Linked DNA regions of Homo sapiens: region 2 is linked to region 1. The links are contacts of gene promoters, found by promoter capture Hi-C in human tissues and cell types (Jung and others, 2019). All regions are on one chromosome and are shown on one strand. Each heading gives the region's core, a stretch centred on a gene start or on the middle of the fragment in contact. The rest is flanking DNA. Distances are from core to core; before and after follow the strand shown. Region 1 holds the start of CEP76 (centrosomal protein 76). Region 2 overlaps LDLRAD4 (low density lipoprotein receptor class A domain containing 4).

Region 1 (4,857 bases), core at 922-3,421:
TTTGTAATTTGTTAATCATAGAGAATATAATCCCAAAAGAGTGCTTATTTTAAAAATACGCTTAATCTAAAAAAGTTACAGATCATAATGAAAAAGAACTTTGTTATGGTGAACTAATTGGACTAAAGTATGTATATTCAAATTTACAGACCTAGAAAATAAGAGAAAATTCTGTCACTGTAGAGACAGGAATAAGATATCTAACACAAATTTCATTGATACACAAAACTATTCAGTATATTCAAGGGCAGAGCTAGCCTATACTTGAAACAAGGACACTAGTAAACAGAATGACCTTGAAGTGGTTTTACTAAAACGAAAGGCCCCACATCGGAACCTTATAAGTAGTGTTACGCATTAGTATATACATATATACTCTCATTTATTTCCCTAAAAGATTACTCACAGTAACAAAATTAAGTTCTTTCATCACATCGTCAATGATTCCTCGACGTCTAAGGGCTTTGATCAAATCTTCTGTTGATAAATGCTGTTGATCAGGTGCCAATTCTTCCCGTATAGTCTCAGCAAGGATTTCTCTTATTCTACCATGGACATCCATCTATGTAGAAAACTCATATTACAATTTATAACATCACAAAGCAGTCAAATACTGCTTCTGAAGTTTTAAGGTTCTCCAGCTAACAGTAAATGCACAATTGTTACCACAATTGAATGGGAACAAAGGTAAGCTTTTAAAGAATGAATCTTTTGAGTACAAATTCTAGAAATAGTCTCCACTGGTTATCTGGCACCTTTGTTACCATTTCTCCACAAACAACACTCAACCAAAAGGAATCTTCTGAGAGGGAGTATAGTATAATCAGAAGAACACGGACTGGGAGTAGGCAGATCAAAGTATGATCTTATTACTTTCATACTTTGATCTGCCTAATGATAAGGGAATCTTACCAGCTTTCAACTTAGTAGATGTGTAACCTCAAGCCAACTTATTTACCCTTTATAAATCTGTTTCGTCACCGATAAGAATGGAAAAACCTAGTGTAGTGCCCTCTCACGATAGTGTTGTGAGGATTAAAGATACTAGACAGCACAAAGCCTGGCACACAAGGGCACCATAAATGGTCGCTTTTATCACTTCAGCATCTTGCACTCAGTCGAGCGAGCGCTGCAGAAACTGGAGGTTCTTCTGGAGCTCCGAAATATTAACAAATTCCGTCATTACAAACCCTTTAGTAACTTCTCTTCCATGACTTATTTGAGAATTGCTGATTGAAGCTCCTGGTTCAACTTCGCTGATACCCACATGTTTCAGCGGTAAAGAAACCCTGATATCTGCCGGGCGCGGAGGCTCACGCCTGTAATCCCAGCACTTTAGGAGGCCGAGGCGGCCGGATCACGAAGTCAGGAGTTCGGGACCAGCCACACCAACATGGTGAAACCGTCTCTACTAAAAATACAAAAATTAGCCGAGCGTGGTGGCGCGCGCCTGTAATCCCAGCTACTCGGGAGGCTGAGGCGGAGAATCGCTTAAACCTGGGAGGCGGAGGTTGCAGTGAGCCGAGATCGTGCCACTGCACTCCAGCCTGGGCAACAGAGAGACTCCGTCTCAAGAAAGAAAAAAAACCTGATATCTTACAGCAGAATATAAACCTCCAAATACAACTTACACTCGATCCGACTTCCAGAAGTCGCTCGCTAAGCGCTTCATTCTCACGGCCGTCCTAAAACGCCAAGACCGCTCGTTCTATCGCCCCAGACTCTTGCTAGCACCTGCTCGGCTCGTTTTCTTTCTCGGAGACGAGGACGCTCTCCTGCCTCAAACTCAAAGCTCTGCCTACTCTGCGTTGCGCACCCCACAATCCTCGCTACAGTCCCGGCAAGCAGATGCCGCTGTCGGCCCGGGGCCGCCGGGCAGGAGGGAAAGGTTATGGGTCGGCCCGGCGGTCTCTCCCAGCACCCGCGACTCTCACCTTGCTCAGCTGCTGGTGGATGAGCTGCTTCAGCTCGGAGGCTTTCTCCGGAGGCAGCGACATGCTGGCAGCCGGCGTCTCCCCGCCGCTTCTCCCCGCCTCAGATGCCCTAACTGCGCGGCCCCGGCCGGGCCAGGGAGCGTTAGGAGCGACTGGAGCACAAAGCGCCGCAGCCGTTCGCCTAGCGCAGCTCCCGGGGGACGCAACGCCGCGTCAGGCCGGGGGCTGACCTGGAAATGAGGCCCCGGCGGCGGCGGCGCCAACTGTTTTCAAACAGTGGCGGACAAACAGGGCTTGGGGCTGGCCCGCACGCTGCCTGATCGTTTCCGCCCGCCGCTCCACCTCCCCGCGGGCCCCGCACCCCGAGACCTCAGCGCACCCCATCGCCTTGCTTGCCAGGGTCTCCGAAAGCGCTGCTGGCCCCTCTTCGCGGCCACCCGGCGGCCTCTTTCCGCCCTCTGAACCGGCAGTTAGCTGGACGGGCCTCAAGGGCCCGGCGCCCAGGGACTCAAAGGACCCTCCCGCGCCCCGCGAGGCTCCGGGGTCTCGGGCTTCCGCCTTCTTGCTGCCCTCGTTCTTGCCAGGGCCGCGGTTAGTCCCTGCTGGCCACCCCACTGCGACCATGTTCGTTCCCTGCGGGGAGTCGGCCCCCGACCTTGCCGGCTTCACCCTCCTAATGGTGAGTCTCCATTTGCGCTCGGGGCTGCCGCCTCCCGAGGCCCCTGCGGTGTCGCCACCCCGACGCGGGGTGTTTGGCGGTGCCTTGGGAGAAATAGGGCACTAGTTTCTATTTCATGTTTTCGGCCGGAAAAAACAGGGAGGTTGTAGCCGGAGGCAGCCGTCCAAACAGAACCTTTGTCGGCTGTAAAACCAAACGTAGTCAAGTCTACAATTTGTAGTCTCTGTTTCCTGTAAAACGTGATGTGTTCGTACGTTCTAGATACACTGTACTTATGTTTTGCAGGGCATCCTTCAGTTTTATCCTAGAAAGTCTTTCTACGACTAGTTTTAGAATTAGTCTTAAGCTAGCATATTATCGTTGTTAACCGGAGAACTACTGATAGGGCAATAAACATTAACTCTTGCCGGTAGTTAGCGCAGTTTTATCGCTCTTTATATTCATTCATTGTTTTAATAAAGTCTGTTATGTGCGAGTATTAGAATAAGACTAGGTGCGTGCCCTCAAAGAATTTACACTGTAGTTGGAAACATGTAATCTAAGAGCAATAAATGCTAGGCTAGAAGCTTGAAAGGGTATAGAAAGGTCCTGAGATAATTGGGAGGGGAGGGACAGATGGCTTGTTAAGAAAGGCTTTATAGAGAAAGTAGTATGCAAAAGATGGAGGGCCCGTGGGCTGGGAGTAGGGGAAAGTAGGCGTTTCAGAAAGATGGATGTCTAAAACAGAGTCAGTAAGCAGGGGGACTTGAAGACTGCCAAGAATTTGGAATGACACATTGAGAGAGAATAGGCTGTAGGCCCTGTGAACCCAGAAGGCACCATTGGAAAATGCACTGTTTGGAGTGGTATAAGGCTGGAGAGAGCTGGAAGTGTCATCCTTATTCATTACATATAAAACACACAGCCCCAGAGAAGAGTGTTTCAAAAAGGAGGGAGTGGCCATGTCAAAAGTAGCCCAGAGATGTGTAAGGTGAAGAAAGTGTATGTTTGGATTTAGCGACATGTTAATGATGGTCACCTGGACAAACAGTTACCAGTGAAGTGGTGAAGAGGAAAGCCATATTGGAGTGGGTTGAATGAATGATAGAAAACAAGTTAAAGATTTGGGTTGTATAATATATATTCAGTCATTAATTCAGAGACAGGCATGATGGCTCATGCCTGTAATCCCAGCACTTTAGAAGGCCGAGTACAGGAGGATCGCTTGAGCTCAGGAGTTCAAGACCAGCCTGGGCGACATAGTGATACCTCATCTCTACAAAAAAATAAATAAAAATTAGCCAGGTGTGGTTTCCTGCACCTGTATCTCAGCTACTCGGGAAGCTGAGGTGGGAGGATCACTTGAGCCCAGGAAGCAGAGGCTGCAGTGAGCTGAAATCGTGCCACTGCACTCCAGCCTGGGCGACAGAGTGAGACCCTGTCTCAAAAAACTTTTTTTTAATAAGAGATAAAGTTTCTGCTTATGTTTTCGTGGACGACTTGGAGAATTTTTGCTACATAGAGAAACAAGAAATGAGGTTGCAGTTAGAGGGCTATGTGGGGTCAAGGGAGAGCCTTTTAGAATGAAAGATATTAGAGCATGTTTACGTGCTGATGGGAATAATACAATATTGTGAGGAAAAGAAGGATGGTACAGAAGAGTTTAACCCAAGTAGCAAAATCGTTGAGAAGGGAATTGCAGGAGGTAACTAGGCAATTGGTAGGTGACAACAGTGAAAAGTGGGAGAACATGCTGAGGGAACACCCGAAGGACAGAAAACAAAAGGAGTTGTTGGAAGAATGCAAAGGAGGAGCTACATTAAAAGGATACTTGGGGGATAGCCTCAATAAAAATTAGGCATGTATTAGATGTAGTTGGTAAGGGAATGGGAAGAAGTTTAGGTAGATTGAATAATATTGAACTTTTTTTTTTTTTTGAGATGGAGTTTTGCTCTTTTTTGCCCAGTCTGGAGTGCAATGGCACGATCTTGGCTCACTGCAACCTCTGCCTCCTGGGTTCAAGTGATTCTCCTGCCTCTGCCTCCCGAGTAGCTGGGATTATAGGCATGCACCACCACGCCCAGCTAATTTTGTATTTTTGGTAGAGACAGGGTTTCACCATGTAGGCCAGGCTGGTCTCAAACTCCTAACCTCAGGTGATCCACCTGCCTCGGCCTCCCAAAGTGCTGGGATTACAGGCATGAGACACCATGCCCGGCGCCCTTTTCTAAAATACAAAATATGGGGAAAAATTTGGGCAAAAGT
Region 2 (4,396 bases), core at 1,515-4,014, 860 kb after region 1:
ATTAATAGATATTAGCAATGCATGGTGATGAAAACCAAGCTTGGACGTTACAGCACTTTCATCTGGCTTAAGGAGATAATAAGCACGGCCAGGCTCAGTGGCACACACCTGTAATCCCAACACTTTGGGATGCCAAGGCAGGAGGATCACTTGAGCCCAGGAGTTTGAGACCAGCCTAGCCAACACCGCAAACCCTATCTTTACAAAATTAAAAAAAAAAAATTAGTCAGGCATCATGGCACATGCCCATAGTCCTAGCTGCCCAGGAGGCTGAGCCAGGAGGATCACTTGAGCCCAGGAGTTCAAGCTTACAGTGAGCTATGATCACAACACTGTGCTCCAGCCTGGGTGACAGAGTGAGATCCTGTCTCAAAAGAAAATAAGCAAAAAACTAGACTTTGTCTTCACTTTGAACATGATCCTAACCTAAACTTGACCTTCTCAAACACTAGTGCCTAAGGATGGTTTCTTTAGACAAAGCCTTTTTTTTTTGAGATTGAGTCTCGCTCTTTCGCCCAAGCTGGGGCGCAGTGATGCGGTCTTGGCTCACTGCAAGCTCCGCCTCCCAGGTTCACGCCATTCTCCTGCCTCAGCCTCCCAAGTAGCTGGGACTACAGGCATGCGCTACCACACCCGGCTAATTTTTTATATTTTTAGTAGAGATGGGGTTTCACCGTGTTAGCCAGAATGGTCTCGATCTCCTGACCTCATGATCTGCCTACCTTGGCCTCCCAAAGTACTGTGATTACAGGCGTGAGCCACCACAGCCGGCCTAGACAAAGCTTTTTATAGGGAGACGAGAAATTGTTAAGAAGTGAGCTAAGAATTGTAAAACACTTAGTATGTGGCATTGTAATATATGTGTTATTGTCTGTTGTTACCATCATGATCATCACCATCATCACGTGCATTGAGTAGCTGAAGAACCTCGATACCAGACACCAGTATGTCCAAATTCTTGATGCCCAATCTCATTATTTTCACTTTGAATTTGAATTAGAAGTAAGTTGTTAAACAGGAACAAAATCTAATCATTTTTTCAAGGTACAAAAAAATTCCACATATTGAAATATAATGAATGGTTTTGCAAACTTTGATTGGCACTTTAAAAGGTGTTGGAGTAGGGCGCTCTGGGAAACTGCCTATTGATTGCACTGTTGTCAGTTTCTAAGCAACCATTGCCAAATTTATCTTCATGTCACACAACTTGTGTGTTTATCCAAGCTGGTTGAAATTCTTACCCTTGTGCAAAAATAGACCAGGGTGAATATTGAGTGGGACTGTATCGGAGGAGTGGGCTGCATTCCTCCATAGTTCCCAGTAGGTGTCACTCTGGCAGAAGAAAACAAGACATGATGGGTTCTGAAGACACATCCCTGGGGATCCGCCCAGGCCACAGGGGCATGCAGAAGCACCACTTGCCTACCTCAGTTCCCCTATTCGTACCCGACTTCTCTGGCCAGCAGGGGCAGGTTGCCCAGGCCACGTGGTGAAGAGCATTCCTGGAAAACATTGTTCTAGACCCACCTGGCTACAGACATCCCAGCTTACTCATAAAGCATTAAAGCAGTAATAGAGGAAGAGCTATATCTATGTAGCTGTAACCCGAAGAATTGGCAGCACTTGCTGGGATATGGGTAGCAAATTTTTATTCCTAGTAGGATCGGCACATGTATGGCTCAGTCGTAAATGTTTATCAGCTAGCTGAACGAGTCCCACGAGGACTTCATGTGTTTCTGGGTAATCTTCCATAGGAGTTACTGTTTACTCAGAAATGCAAAATAATTTTGCTATTAGCCAGTGTAACTAAGAAAAATTTTAAAAAGTATGAAAAATATAAAACAGTAAGAAAAATATAAAATATGAACACCCAAAGAGAACCTCTGCCACCATTGCTTTCTGTTAATAGGTGATCAACAGTAAGCATTACATAACCTTGAATTCTCCCACCCAGCCCTCCCCCTGCCCCTCTACAAGAGCAAGTCATCGGGGGCCACCCTGTGCACTAGGGCAATCACAGAAGTGGGAAGCACACCAGCTCCCCAGCTAATGCGACTCGCAGGCACTGAAGTACTGTTACTGTCACTAGACGTGCCACCGGCAGCACCCCAGAATGTAGTACCCCACTGGCTGCAAGACCAGCATTAGATAAAAGTAAGCAGGGAGTCTCGATGGATCACCACTGATCTTTGGTATCTGTAAAGGTGTCACTGTCTCTTTAAGGAAAGAGGGAGTCCCTACTTTCATTTTTCCTCAATAAATAATTTTTGACTGATTAGTGACAAAGGGACACTTTAGTGGGTGATCAGCACAGCATCTGCATGGCTGCTTCCTTGTGGGGTTTCTGAAGCTGCTTCTGTGACTCAGCCCCTCACCAACAAACAAACAAATGAGATAAATCCCAGAGACCTGGAAGAGGGAACCTGCCTTGAAATGGCATTCATGGAAAAGGTCTGGACACTTCAGCCAAGTTATTTGTATAATTTGTTAGTTACATATAAGGCCCAATATGCTAAAAAAATGCAACAGGATTATTAGTCTCTATTTGTCTAGAATTGAAATTTCTAAGTAGGTGTGTGAATTTATATGGGTATGTATCATATATATGTGTATGTATGTACATATACACATGTACACATATATATGACAAATAGCTTACATGTATATATACATATAGAAATGCAAGTATATCTGTGTACATATGTATGTATGTACATTTTATATATGTATATATATACATGTAAGCTATTTGTTATTTCTTCTGTCTAGAGACCAACATCACACTCCCTGAGAGTCAGAAAACTGGGTTCAGACAGCAGCTCTGCAAATGACTTTTCCAGGACATTCGCTAAATCACTGCCCCTCTCCTGGACTCAGTTGCCCATGGAGGAGTTGGCGGGAGATCTCTGATGCCTCTTCCAGTTCAAAGACAGCACAGCTGGTACACAGCCTCTGCTTGTATCCAGACAGCACTTTGCTGCCCCTGACCAAGAAGTGCCTATCTTCAAACCAAGATGTTGGTCTGCCGTTGCATAATCAACAGGGTTGGGCGTTACTACCTAGCAACAAGGAGTCCCTAATCCAGGGCCTTTGCTCTGATAGCTTTTGAGTATTATATGGGTACTTTTTAGCTTTTGGATTAATTGGTAGCAGAAAAAGTGGAACTCTAGTTCCTGTCATGCTTTTATTTTTTTCTTTTTTTGATTTACATTGTTCAGAGCAAATATAGAAACCATGGAATTATTTTCAGGGAATTGAAGCCCTAGAGGGTGTCCCCCTGCTTTTGGGTCTGTTGGCCTGAGCCAACCCCATCCTCAAAACACCCCAGGTGAGACTGCTGAAGGACGAATGTGCACAGCCCATGTCACAAGGAGTCTGTCCGGCTGCTCACCTTTTCTCTGACTTCTGAGCAGGTGTTTGGAAGCTGTAGGTAATGGCCCAATCTCAGAGCCCAAGGGGATTCGGGTCTTTCCCCTGCAGACTGTGCTGCTGTCCTTGGTTGGTCCTTGAAGGGACCTGCATCGTACCTGAGGCTCTGTGCCAGTGGGGATGACGGGGGCTGATGTCTCTTCCCATGGGCTCCTATGGATTTGCCCTTCAGATGACCTGGTAGGGCTCTGAGTGACTGACTTAAAGACCTTCATAACGCCAAAGTGGCAAGATTTTGGAGACAGATTTGTGTCTCCTCATCCATGATTTTTGACTTTAATCTTTTCTGAGAAGACCAGAAATCAGAGAGTTTGTCTTCTCAGCCTCTCTGTGAAAGGATCTGCTGAGCTCAAGCTTCCCTTTTCAGCGTCAGCTTTTTAAGTTGAGAATAATAATTAAAGAAAACTCCAATCTCAATTCCAACATCAAGTGTCCATGAAGCTGTAGTTGTTGCTGTGGCTGAGAAGAAAGTAGAGAACAGAGTGCAGACCTGCGGTTGAAATGACTCTTGGAAGGGCTTGCAGGTGACCTGGGAGCTAGCAGGTGCCTAACACTGTGGCTCTCTTGGCACAAAACAACTTCAAGCCTGTGTGAAATAAAGGAAAACCAGGAGCCTCGTTCTGATTTTTATGGAGACACATCTGTGTGACCTTAGGAAGGTCTCCCAAGAGCTCTGGGTTTGTTTCTTCCCCTGTGAATTGGCTTATGATGTGTCACTTGGCCTTACAGGTATGTAAAGCTCCCCAGTTACCAGATCTTACTGTCTCAGGGAACATCCTGCAGATATTCAGGGCCCACACTGGAGCTATTCTTCAGGTTCCACGTTTGAAAGGTTGAAAGGCGTTAAGAGCGTGACATGAAATGAGTGGGTGAATTTATTTTTAGGAAACAATATATAGGTAATTAGTTTTGGAAATGGGCTTCCGTTAACTTATCACCCCTTACTCTTTTCTGGGGCATCATCCAG

What was found. The method cuts DNA at HindIII sites, captures the fragments that hold promoters and counts their contacts. A contact is called where the count stands out against the background at its distance.
Region 2: a contact is called between a fragment that was not itself captured here and the fragment with the promoter of CEP76 in region 1, in 1 of the 25 tissues and cell types used here (lymphoblastoid cells).

What each region holds. Positions count from the first base shown.
Region 1 is chr18:12,700,552-12,705,408 of GRCh38, forward strand. It overlaps CEP76 (centrosomal protein 76), which reads right to left and starts at 2,172. Exons shown (of 12, transcript NM_024899.4): 1 at 1,935-2,172; 2 at 407-562. The coding sequence starts at 1,997. PSMG2 (proteasome assembly chaperone 2) reads left to right here and starts at 2,491. Exons shown (of 7, transcript NM_020232.5): 1 at 2,491-2,613. The coding sequence starts at 2,557. RefSeq lists enhancers at 1,317-2,214, 1,500-1,799, 1,810-1,859. The HindIII fragment of the contact is 6,809 bases long and covers 1-4,857 here.
Region 2 is chr18:13,556,927-13,561,322 of GRCh38, forward strand. The region is part of intron 4 of LDLRAD4 (low density lipoprotein receptor class A domain containing 4); the gene reads left to right. Among named protein-coding and RNA genes, the nearest start is that of MIR4526, 52 kb to the right of the region's middle. RefSeq lists an enhancer at 1,496-1,595. The HindIII fragment of the contact is 4,441 bases long and covers 545-4,396 here.